Regions from separate parts of the Homo sapiens genome. Here all the other regions are linked to region 1. The links are contacts of gene promoters, found by promoter capture Hi-C in human tissues and cell types (Jung and others, 2019). All regions are on one chromosome and are shown on one strand. The core of a region is centred on a gene start or on the middle of the fragment in contact, and the rest is flanking DNA. Distances in the headings are between cores, read along the strand shown.

The links. The method cuts DNA at HindIII sites, captures the fragments that hold promoters and counts their contacts. A contact is called where the count stands out against the background at its distance.
Region 2: a contact is called between the fragment with the promoter of GGA1 here and the fragment with the promoter of IFT27 in region 1, in 2 of the 25 tissues and cell types used here (dorsolateral prefrontal cortex and lymphoblastoid cells).
Region 3: a fragment that was not itself captured here is called in contact with the fragment with the promoter of IFT27 in region 1 in 1 of the 25 tissues and cell types used here (dorsolateral prefrontal cortex).

What each region holds. Positions count from the first base shown.
Region 1 is chr22:36,774,310-36,778,324 of GRCh38, forward strand. It overlaps IFT27 (intraflagellar transport 27), which reads right to left and starts at 1,810. Exons shown (of 7, transcript NM_001177701.3): 1 at 1,365-1,810. The coding sequence starts at 1,398. RefSeq lists silencers at 1,372-1,431, 1,562-1,611 and enhancers at 1,510-2,073, 1,852-2,111, 2,639-3,202. The HindIII fragment of the contact is 3,270 bases long and covers 1-2,447 here.
Region 2 is chr22:37,606,576-37,610,590 of GRCh38, forward strand. GGA1 (golgi associated, gamma adaptin ear containing, ARF binding protein 1) reads left to right here and starts at 2,259. Exons shown (of 17, transcript NM_013365.5): 1 at 2,259-2,328. The coding sequence starts at 2,286. RefSeq lists a cis regulatory region at 435-894, enhancers at 1,639-1,718, 1,869-2,038, 2,643-3,264, 2,979-3,088 and a silencer at 2,199-2,648. The HindIII fragment of the contact is 29,756 bases long and covers 1-4,015 here.
Region 3 is chr22:37,536,629-37,540,643 of GRCh38, forward strand. No RefSeq gene overlaps it. Among named protein-coding and RNA genes, the nearest start is that of CARD10, 19 kb to the left of the region's middle. RefSeq lists enhancers at 1,320-1,529, 1,636-2,137, 2,138-2,637 and a silencer at 2,256-2,445. The HindIII fragment of the contact is 4,240 bases long and covers 1-4,015 here.

The DNA of each region.
Region 1 (4,015 bases), core at 560-3,059:
ACAGGAATCTCTTTTTCTCTATATAATTTCTCACCACTTCTTTCCTGAGCTGGCCAGGGAAGCCTGGAAAGGTCACAGGTTTCAACAGAAACACGAGTTAAGAGTTTTGGAGTTGGCCAGATCTAGGGGCTGAAATCCTGCATAGGGCCTTCACTAGGGGTTGACCTTGGCTGACATCTCTCAGTGCCTCAGTAAGATCAGAACAATCCAGTACCTGGCCGGGCGCAGTGGCTCATGCCTGTAATCCCAGCACTTTGGGAGGCCGAGGTGGGTGGATCACCTGAAGTCAGGAGTTCGAGACCAGTCTGGCCAACATGGTGAAACCCCAGCTCTATTAAAAATACAAAAAAAAATTAGCCGGGCATGGTGGCTTGCGCCTGTAATCCCAGCTACTTGGGAGGCTGAGGCAGGGGAATTGCTTGAACCAGGGAGGTGGAGGTTGCAGTGAGCCGAGATTGCGCCACTGCCCTCCAGCCTGGGCAACAGCGTGAGACTCCGTCTCAAAAAAAAAAAAAAAAAAGAAAAACAATCCAGTACCTAGCCCAGTGTGCTATGGTGAGACGATTACATGAAATATGTGTGCTTCACATGCAGTAAGCACTCAGTAACATGCATATGTGTTTCGCAGTCTATAATCCAAAATATTGTTTTTCTAAATGTGCAGACTGATACAAGGGGTACACTACAAATGTGCATGCCACATATTCACATATTCATCCATTCTAAAAGTATTTATTGAGTACCTACTATGTTCCAGGCATTGTTCTGGGTGCTTGGGATGTATCAGTCAACAAAACAAAGATTCCTGCCTTTGGGAGACTCAACATTTATGCCCTTCTTGGAGTGGGGCAGCACAGTAACTTTGGGTCTTAAAGACAACACACAAGTGCCTTTTGCAAACTCTGGTCACTACACTCAGGTCACCGTTATCAGAGGGGGTGAGGTCGGGGGAAAAATCCCATAGTAAAGACTACCAAAGTCACTGATGCCTAACTTTGGGGTACAGTATATGTTTAGCTGAAGCACTCAAGGTTTGCTTAAGCTTTGTTTGTTTTGTTTTGTTTTAACAAGTCTGCTTCTCCAGAGTTGTAACTAGTGATTTTTTAACGAGTCACCTCAACTGGTGAAGGTGGTCTCAGAGTATGTGACAGGGAGCAGGGGGAAATCCACTGGAGCTGCGAAGTGCCCTGGAAGATCATTCTTCCACGCCTAACGTAATTTACTGTATCAGTAATTGCAGTAACTCGCCTTTGGGAGAGAGAAAGGAAAAGGTAGGCAATTTAGGTGAACAAAAGCTCTGGATGAATTATGAAGGCTCTGGACTCCAGAGACCACCGTATTCAAGCGCAAGTTTTCAGACTCACCTGCCAGGATGCATTTGGCTGCCAGCTTCACCATGGTAACCAACACTCCCGCGAGCCGTACCCAGAGGACAAGAGCGGCTGCTAGAGACGCGAGTGGGTGGGCTTCGGGCCCTGGGCTGGCCTGGGACGGGAAGGTGGGGAGGGGAGGGCTGATCTCAAGGGTCAGTGGCCGCGACGGGACTGGGGATGACCGAGCCCGGCCCTTCTGGGCCGGGGGCGGATATCGGGCGCTGGGGGCGGGTGGGCAGGGGAGGGCTCCAGGTGGGCCCGGCTCGAGGCCTGACACGGCAGTCTGAAAAGGTGCAAGCGAGCGGACACGGCCTGTGCTCCCCGCCCAGCCCCTCAGCACAGCCCTACCCAGAGGGTTCAAGGAAGGACGATCCGGCTCTCCTCCGATCACAAGTACCGGGCCGGATGCACTCTCCAAGCAACCATAGCCCACCTGCCCCGCCTCCTCCTCCTCCTCGCTGACCCTCGATTGGTTGCCGCCAAAAGCTCCCACCCTCAAGGTCTCACAAAAATCCAATGGGAGTAGAGAGCTGGGATAACAGCCTTTTCTTGAGATGCAATTCGTAGAGTTATCAGTTCTTCAAGTTCAGTCTGCTTGACGAGTGGTTGTAATTGACGTCAACCAGCTTTATATCCCGCCCCCGCTGCGCCTGAGAGTCCCGAGATAAAGAAGCCTCCACGTCAAGCAGTCAGAAGCGGTGACAAGAGAAGCTTTCTGATTGGTCAGAGTCTGGCTTGACCCATCTTCGGGAGGAATAGGGATTCGCCACTCCCGCTGTCCTTCTAGAAGTGGGTTCGCCTACAATGGGGCAGGTTGGGCTCTAGGCGGTCTGGAGCGGCGCCTGCGCAGTGGGCCAGGCCGCCGCTGTAGAGGTCGTTTTGACTTGCTCTGACTTCGCGCGGTTCTCGCGGCTTCCCCGGTTCCCGGGTTCTGCACAGCGCGGCTATTAAAGTGCATGGAGAAGTGCAGTCCTTGCCCCGCATCCCGCAGGGAAATCTCATTTTAAAAGCTCAAAGATGTAATGAGCGTTAAAATCTAAAATATGAAGGTGTTTTATTAAAGTGATGTTTGTGAACAAAGGGAGAACAAATACACTTTGATGGGGCTAAGCGGTGAGACTCGGAAACTTGAAGTCGTACTTTGCTCTTAGTCCATTTACTCTCTGCAAAAGGAGAATGCATCACTAACCTCGTTTGCCCGTCACCCAGGGAGGCTCTCTGTACGCGTTTACTGGGTTGGGGGTGCCTCTTGCACGTGGTTAGGGGGTCAGAGACCTAAATCCCTGGCCTGGACAAGTCACCTCATCCCTCAGCCTCAGGATGGGCCTAGGAGAACCCGCCTTGTGGGGTGGTTGTGGAGATGGAAGGAGAGAAACGTATGAGTGCCTGGGAGATAGTAGGTGCACACGTGATTGTGGGGTGGATGGGAGAGCGGAAGCTTATCTGGACAGATTTGGTTTATCATCACTGTCACTGGTTGGCCGAATGTACCCCTTGTTCTCACTTTCTCAGGGCCCCTGGGATTCTGATGGCTGATGCTGAAGGGAAGAGCAGCCCCTCAGCAAAGGTGCCTGTGCGAAAGTTCCACATTCCCTCCAGACACCTAGAACATTCCACCTCTCCGCCACTCTGCATCTCAGAGTGGCTGCCAGCCTTGTGTGGGGGAATAAACACACACACTCTATGAATGGCTGATGGTTTCAGCCCCGAATCCAGAGTAAATGCAAGTTGTCTGAGATGTTCTTTCCTTGGGATTCATTCCTGGCGCTACGGTAAAGGTCTGTTTCTCCTTCATTTCTCGTAACTGCTTTTCTTCTTTGGTGACATCACGTGAGTCTGTCTCAGACATCCAGGTCTGAGTGAGCAAAAAGCCTCTTTCTGGTCTTCTGCCTTCCTCTTGCCGGCTCCCCTCCAGGCCAACCTGTTCACCATGAGTGACCCTGTTAATCCCTTAAAGGACCCCATTTGGTGAGTCACCCTCCCGAGGCAGCTCCACGTAGCTAAGACACAGACACACATCAGGGCAGCCTCCGAAGCCTTGGTTCCTTCATTTTGCGAGGTGGGTAATGACAGAGCCGGAGCATAGCCATCTTGGACAAGCACTGCCATTTTAAAGTTCTCCTTGATCAAAAACGGCCTAAATTCAACCCAAAGGGCATCAGCCTAATGGCTAATGTCAGAATGACCATAAACCACAAGTGACATCTCCAATCAGAAACATTCCAACCCTAAGATAAACCCACCCCCCGACCAGAGACATGCAGCCCCAAGATAACCTCCCCTCTGGTCAGAGAGATGTCAGCCCCAACATAACCCACCCTCAGACCGGAGACATTCCAACCCCACAGTAAACTTCTCCTCCACACAGAAACATTCCAAGCCTGTGGTAAGCTCTCTTGCCCTAAACCCTTAAATACTCTTAGTCTGTAAGAGAGAGCACTCCTGACTGAAATTGGCCAGAAGCCCCTCTCAGGTTTATGCTCCAAAATAAACCTGTATTTAACTGTTGAGCCACTTTTCATGTTTCTTGCCTCTTTCTTTAACTCTTGCAGGTAATAATCACACCTCCCTCCCAGGGCTGTTCTCTGTTCCCCACCCACTGTCTCCCTTTTGTTGCTGCTACTCTGTGTGATTTTAGTCAG
Region 2 (4,015 bases), core at 1,009-3,508, 830 kb after region 1:
TGTAATCCCAGCACTTTGGGAGGCTCAGGCGGGTGGATTACTTGAGGTCCAGAGTTCGAGACCAGCCTGGCCAACATGGTGAAACCCCGTCTCTACTAAAAATATGAAAAAATTAGCCGGGCGTGGTGGCAGGCGCCGGTAATCCCAGCTACTCGGGAGGGTGAGGGAGGAAAATCACTTGAACCCGGGAGGCAGAGGTTGTGGTGAGCTGAGATCGCGTCACTGCACTCCGGCCTGGGCGACAGAGAGAGACTCCGTCTCAAAAATAAAATAAAATAAAAAAATATATATAATTCATTTCAGTAGTAAAAGACATAAACAAAAAGCTATAAGTATACACTACGTTACAGCTTTTGTTGAGGAATGCAATAAACATACATATCACTTCCCTGTATAATCTCAATGGCCTTTGGGAGAGAATTTAGAAAAGCATCCCAGTCGCTGAATGGTTGAGTTTAGGGGAAAAACTGACCCAGCACAGCCCCCTCATCTCCTGGATGAGGTTACTGCGGTTCCGCAAGGTGAATCGAGGTCAGTCGCCAAGGCAGAACCGGATTCGCCAGATTCCCTAGTCTCAGTGGAGCTTTAACCCTCCCAGGCACAGGACCGCTGGAGAGGTCGCCACGGGCCGGTTTCCCAGCCGGCCGCGAGGGGGCGACAGAGTGCAATGGACCCAGGTGAGTCGGGGACCAGGCGCCGCCAGGTCGTGACGCCACAAGGTGAGGGAGGTCTTTGATGGAGGGAGATACAGGAGAAAAGGCGCCGAGCTTAGGAAGTCTGTTCGTACTGTCCTCCCCGATTCCAGTCTGGCTCCCACTGCTATCTTCCTCCCACTGCTGGACCCTTCTAAAACAAAAGCCTGACTTTGCTACCATCCGTAAAACTGTAACGACACCTCCAACGTTGCTTACAGGGAAAAAAAAAAAAAAGGGCAGCAAAACATGGGACCTGGGTGATCTTGCCCCAGCCTAATTCCAAGATATCTCCTGCAAATAGATATCTATTTGCAGATATCTGGGAGCCGTATTGAAATACTTCCAACTCCCTGGACTCATCCTACTTTTTTTTTTTTTTTTTTTTTTGAGACTGAGTCTCGCTATGCCGCCCAGGCTGGAGTGCAGTGACGCAATCTCGGCTCACTGCAACCTTCACCTCCCGGGTTCAAGCGATTCTTCTGCCTCAGCCTTCTAAGTAGCTGGCACTAAAGGCGCGCCCAGATAATTTTTTTTTTTTTTTTTTTTTAGTAGAGACGGGGTTTCACCGTGTTAGGATGGTTTCGATCTCCTGACCTCGTGATCCGCCCTCCTCGGCCTTCATCCTACTTTTTCTCCCTGAATATCTTTTCGCACCAGCTCTACGTGGAGAAATCCGACTGTCTTTGAGCGAAGTACAGTATCACTTTCTCTTGAAACCTCCCCTGACACGACCCCTCCCCTGACACGACCCCTCCCCTGACAACACCCCCACCCACCCCACCCCAGTTTGGGGGAGGAGCCCCCTCCTTTGTTCCCACTACCCCGTGGGCTTCCCCTATCACACTGTAATAAATATCTGGCCTTGTCTATCTCCTTCTGTGCCCATCACAGAGCAAAGCAAATACAAAGAGTTCATTAAACGTTGGCTGGATGAATGGAGGAGACGGCACAGGGTTCAAGCTCTGCTACTTGTGCGGCCTCAGGCCGACTAATTATCTGGTGGGTTTGTTGTAAGGAGTCAGAACTAAATGGATTAATTACAAATAGTGCTTAGGACAATGCCCAGAATACTGTAAGCACTCAAGAAACTGATTTATTTTCGTCATTTTCACAGCGGCCAAGGTACATGAGGATGTAGCTTATCGCCCTTTTAAGGGACTCTCCCACGTTCGACTCTAAGCGGAAGTACCCGCTCAGGGCTCCGGAAGTGGCCTCAGAGCCCCTCAGCAACATGCCCGCAGAGAATTCTTCCGGAGGCGGTCACAGACATCTCCGTGACGCAGAACGAGTTAGAGCGTCCCTTGGGGTTTCCATGGTGCTGCCCTTAGCCTGCAGTATCTCCACTTCCTCTCCCGCCTGAGCGCCGGGAACGGAAAAGCAGGCGGCCGGTCCCAGCTGCGACGTAGACGCCGCGTGGGGGTGGGGTTGGGCGAGTAGGTGACGCTCTAGGCGAGCTCGTTGGCCTCTCTATGGTGCCGAGCGCGCCCGTTCGGACGTTGCCCCTTTAATCGGCAGAGGGCGGTGCCCAGGAGGTCCCGCGAGAGCTGCGGGGGGCGGGGGGGCGGTGCCGAGGCTGGGGGCCGGTGGCGGATGGAGCCCGCGATGGAGCCGGAGACTCTGGAGGCGCGAATCAGTGAGTGTCCGGGAGGGGCGCGGGCCGGACCGGAACCGGAACCGGGGGCACGAGGCGGGCCCCTTCCCGGCGGGGGCGGGGTACGGGTCGCCCCCTCCTCACGCCCCGCCCCCGGCCCGGGAGGGGCGGTGTCCTCAGTCGGCCCCTCAGACCCTGGAGCGATGGAGGACCCCGGCCCCGGCGCGGTCCAGCGGTGGGAGCGGGCGCCGCCCACCTGTCGGATCCCTGGGCCATGACCCCTGGGACGGCGAGTGAGCTGCGCCGGGAACCCCCGGGACGGAGAGAGCAGCCTCCAACCCCCAAGGCTCACATTGCTTCACGGAGTAGCGGCCCGGGGAAGGAGCACGCGAGCGGTTCCCCGGGGTTGCATCTCACACCCGGGAGGGAGGGACCCTACTATTTTCAGGCCCCGAATCCTCCACTCTCTGGCCCTGCATGGCGTTCCTGGAGCCCGCAAGTAGTCACATTTGCTCATTACCCCGTCCTGGAAGGGAGGACCCACTGCCCCATTTGATTCCTCCCGCCGCTCCTAGTCTCTAGCCACATAGTGAGAAACCCCCGCACCCTACAGGCTTGGGAGAGTCTTAGACTCCAGAAGTATTAATAATTCCAAGCTCCCTGTCACTCCCTTCAGCCTAACCCCTCAGTCTCCAAGATGCCTTTCCCAGCTCTTGCTGAACTTCCTTCAAAGGCTTCTACACCCCTTTTTTTCTTGTTTCTCCTCAGACGTAGCTTCCTATTGCTTAGGCTTCCTAGCCCGCAAACCCTCCACCTGAGCTCCTTAACCCACAGCCCTGATGATCCCCTGCTCTCACAGCCCCGCTCCTGGACTCTGCCTCTGAAAGCCGTGGCTGGCTTCTCCCTGGTCTAGTGAGGGTTCTCTCCCAAGGCTTTAACTGCTGTTGGGACCCCGTCGTTGCCAGGGCCTCAGGGAACCCTCTTGGACCCGGGCACACCGGCAACTGTCTAGCGTGGTTTGGGGTCATGGCCGGCCCCTTTTAAGCCAGGCTTGAGCAGAGTTGAACCATGAGGTTGGCCCCAGAACCAAACCTCTAGGGATGTTTCAGAGTCATCCTAGCCACCAGAGGGGCAGGGGGTGGAAAAGGGGCACTCAGCAGCCCTTGACCGTTGTGAACGCCGGAAGTGTCCGCCTGGGTCTCAGCAGCAACTGGGCTGGGGGGATGGGTGGGCCCCTGGCTAACTGATCTCAGACACAGGTCTTGAGCTGTGGGTCATACAAAACATTCTCAGGTTTAGAAACAGTGGGGGTTTTCTGAGAGTCCAGAGAGTCTAAAACCAGGCAGAAGTTAGAGATACCTGGGTTTGGCTGGGCCCTGACACACTGGGGCTGGGATTTTCTCCTTTCCTTCCCCCTTTGTGTCCTAGCAGAATTGTAAGATCTTTCCTCTTCCCTTGTGGAGGCTGGAGGTAAAGGATAGCTTCTTCTTTTTTTTTTTGAGACGGGTTTTCACTCTTGTCACCCAGGCTGGAGTGCAGTGGCACAATCTCAGCTCTCTGCAACCTCCACCTCCCGGGTTCAAGTGATTCTCCTGTCTCAGCCTCCCGAGTAGCTGGAATTACAGGTGCGCCACCACGCCCAGCTATTTTTGTATTTTTAGTACAGGTGGGCTTTCACCATGTTGGCCAGGCTGATCTCGAACTCCTGACCTCAGGTGATCCGCCTATA
Region 3 (4,015 bases), core at 847-3,346, 760 kb after region 1:
ACTAAGTTAACATGAGGGGCTGGGCGCAGTGGCTCACGCCTGTAATCCCAGTACTTCGGGAGGCCGAGGGGACACTTGAGGACAAGAGTTTGAGACCAGACTGGCCAACATGTGAAACTTCATCTCTACTAAAAATACAAAAATTAGTTGGGCGTGGTGGTGCATGCCTGTAATCCCAGTTACTCGGGAGACTGAAGCAGGATAATCACTTGAACCGGGAAGGCGGAGGTTGCAGTGAGCCAAGATCATGCCACTGCACTCCAGCCTGGGCAACAGAGCGAGACCCTGTCTCAAAAAAAAGTTAAAATGAGGTCTTTAGGGCAAACCCTAATCCAGTATGATTTGGGCCTTTATTCGGTTACTGGCTACATGGCGCGCTCACTCTGTATACACTTATTTCATGTATATAATGTCAATCAAAATAGTACCCTTGCCTCTTATAGGAAGAGGAGATTTGGACACAGATGTGTACAGAAGAAAGATGATGGGAAGATGGCCATCTACAAGCCAAGGAGAGAGGCCTGGGAAGAAGCCACTATTCCCATCCCTTGATCCTGGACTTCCAACCTCCAGACTGTGAGAAAATCAATTTCTGCTATTTCAGCCCCCCAGTCTATAGTAGTTTGTTAAGGAAGCCCAAACTAATACAACCCCCAAAGGTAAATTATATGCAATCATATGGAATAAATGCAAAAATGTCATTATGTGGAAAAAGACAGTAGAGAATTGTATATCGTATGCCACCATTTGCTTTTAAAAAGAAGTGGGGGAATGTGTGTGTGGTGTGTGTGTCTGCATATACTGTGTACATGTACATACATATATACATATATAAATCATCCCAGATCATCTCTGGGAGAATATGGAGGAAACTGCCATCAGTTATTGTTTTTCATTTATTTTTTATTTATTTATTTTATTTTTTTTTTTTTTTTGAGATGGAGTCTCGCTCTGTTGCCTAGGCTGGAGGGCCATGGTGCGATCTTGGCTCACTGTAACCTCCACCTCTCGGGTTCAAGCAATTTTCCCTGCCGCAGCCTCCTGAGGAGCTGGGATTACAGGCACCCCCCACCGCTACCACATCTGGCTAATTTTTGTATTTTTAGTAAGGGTTTCGCCGCATGGCCAGGCTGGTCTCAAACTCCTGACCTCAGGTGATCCGCCTGCCTCAGCCTCCCAAAGTGCTGGGATTACAGGCATGAGCCACGGTGCCAGGCCTTTTTTGTTTGTTTGTTTTAAATAGAGACAGGGTCTCACTATGTTGCCCAGGCTGGTCTCGAAGCCCTGGCCTCAAGTGAACCTCCTGCCTTGGCTTCCCCAAAGTACTGGGATTACAGGCGTGAGCCACTGCGCCCAGCCAGCTGTTGTCTTTTAGAGGGGAACTGGAGGCCTACATAAAGTTGGTTTCGTTTTCTTTTGTTTTTTGAGACAGAGTCTCACTCCATCGCCCAGGCTGAAGTGCAGTGGCACAATCTTGGCTCACTGCAACCTCCACCTCCCCGGTTCAAGCAATTCTCCTGCCTCAGCCTCCCGAGTAGCTGGGATTACAGGCATGCACCACCACAGCCGGCTAATTTTTGTATTTTTAGTAGAGACAGGGTTTCACCATATTGGCCAGGCTGGTCTCAAACTCCTGACCTCAAGTGATCCGCCCACCGTGGCTTCCCAAAGGGCTGGGATTACAGGCGTGAGCCACTGCACTCAGCCCTACGTAAAGTTTTAACCCAGTTAAGTATATTTTTTAAATCACTAAATAGTTCACACATATGCAAATGTTTAGAGAAAAACAATGAACACCAAAATATTCAAAAAGACTAATGTTTGGAAAGTACTCAGAATTGTATTCCCCAAAAATTCATTCCCCCAAGACCCACAGGCCTCAGGGGTCTGCAGGTCTCTCTCAGGGCCAGAGACGGGGAAGGGGCCACCTGGCAAGGGCGGTCCTTGGCACCTTCCCCCCTTTACAGAAGAGGTGTAGAGATGAGGGTCTCACTATGTTGCCCAAGCTGGTCTCGAACTACTGGGCTCAAGCAATCCTCCTGCGTCAGCTTCCCAATAGCAGGACACCCTGAGAAGTCTGAAGGCTCACGCCCAGACCCACGCACAGGTCTAGTTTTGGTCCACAGCATGGCGTGGGTGTGGCTTTGGAGTTGGCGGCAGCTGAAGGCTGGGTGACGTTAGCAAGGTCTCAGCCTCAGTCTCCTTATCTGAAAAACTGGATAGTAATTCCCTCTTTATACTGCGGCCATGAAGAAGAGGGCTGATGTGGGTGGAGTGACTGGTGGGGCAGGCGCTCTGTAAGTGGCTGTCAGCAGGGCAGGGGCTGGGCTCAAGCCTGTGACCACACTGCTCCAAGCTGGACACACGGTGGCGCCCTCGTCCCACAGGTGCAGCACCAGTTCTAGCCTCTGGTGGCATCGGTTACTGGAGGGAGGGAGGGAAGAAGAGAGGAACGGAGTTATATTTGCAAACACACTGCCCACTCTGGGCCCTAGGGGTGGAAAAGTGAATGAGGACCACACAGTTCCTACTCAAGGAGGCTGGATTGGAGGGGCTGGGAGCCCCAAGGAGGAGAGGAACGTGGGAGAGGGCACTGCCTGGGGATTTTGCAGTGGGTTGACTGGTGGCCCCCCTGCAAAAGACACGTCCACCTGGGACCAGGGAATACAGTCTTATTTGAAAAAAGAGTCTTTGCGAATGTAATGAAGATAAGAATCTCGGCCGGGCGCGGTGGCTCACTCCTGTAATCCCAGCACTTTGGGAGGCTGAGGCTGGCGGATCACCTGAGGTCAGGAGCTCAAGACAAGCTTGACCAACACAGCGAAACCCCCTCTCTACTAAAAATATAAATAAAAAATTAGCCAGGCGTAGTGGCGGATGCCTGTAATTCCAGCTACTTGGGAGGCTGAGGCAGGAGAATCGCTTGAACCCGGGAGGAGAGGGTTGCAGTGAGACCAGATTGCACCATTGCACGCCAGCCTGGGTGACAAGAACGAAACTCCATCTTAAAAAAAAAAAAAAGTAAGGATCTCAAGATGAGATCGTCCTGGATTATCCGTGGGGGGCCAAATCCACTGACAAGTGTCCTTACAAGAAGAGAAGATGCTGACACAGAGGGAGCTACACGGAAATGTCGGCAGAGGCAGGAGCGAGGCTGCCATAAGGCAAGGACACCTGGAGCCACCAGAAGCGGGAAGAGGCAAGGAAGGATTCTCCCCTAGCACCTTCAGAGGGAGCGGGGCCCCTCCAACACCTTGATTTCAGACTTCTGGATTCCAGAACTAATCATTTTTGTTTGTTTGTTTTTCAGTGACAGGGTCTTGCTCTATTGCCCAGGCTGGAGTGCAGTGGTGTGATCATAGCTCACTGCAGCCTTGACCTCCTGGGCTCAAGCGATTCTCCCACCTCAGCCTCCCAAGTGGCTGGGACTCCCAGCTCACACCACCATGTCCAGCTAATTTTTTAAAGTTTTTTGTAGAGATGAGGGTCTCACTATGTTGCCCAAGCTGGTCTCGAACTACTGGGCTCAAGCGATCCTCCTGCGTTGGCTTCCCAAAGTGCTGGGATCACAGGCGAGAGCCCTGCACCTGGCGTGGAGAGAATAAATTTTTATTGTTTTAAGCCACCAAGATTGTGGTCATTTGTTACAGCTGCCACAGGAAACTAATAGAGATGTTTAAATTTTCTTCCTGCCACTCGGTTCACTGACTCCCACTCCTAATAGCCTACAGGATTGTGCCCAAGGCCCCAAACTCCTGGCCCCCTACTTCCCCCCAAAACCCAAACTCCACCACACCCACTGCTCTCCAAACACACAGGCTATTTGACACCTCTGCACTCTTGCTTTGGCAGCTCTCTGTCTGGGATGCCCTTCCCTTGCTGATCCCCTGGACGACTACTACAGACATTTCAAAGTCCTCCTTCAACATCCCCTGCTAAGTATATTAGTATCTTCTGAATCAATGGCTTCCAGGACACTCACACTCCTCCATCTCCCTCAGCCCACTGTGTTCCT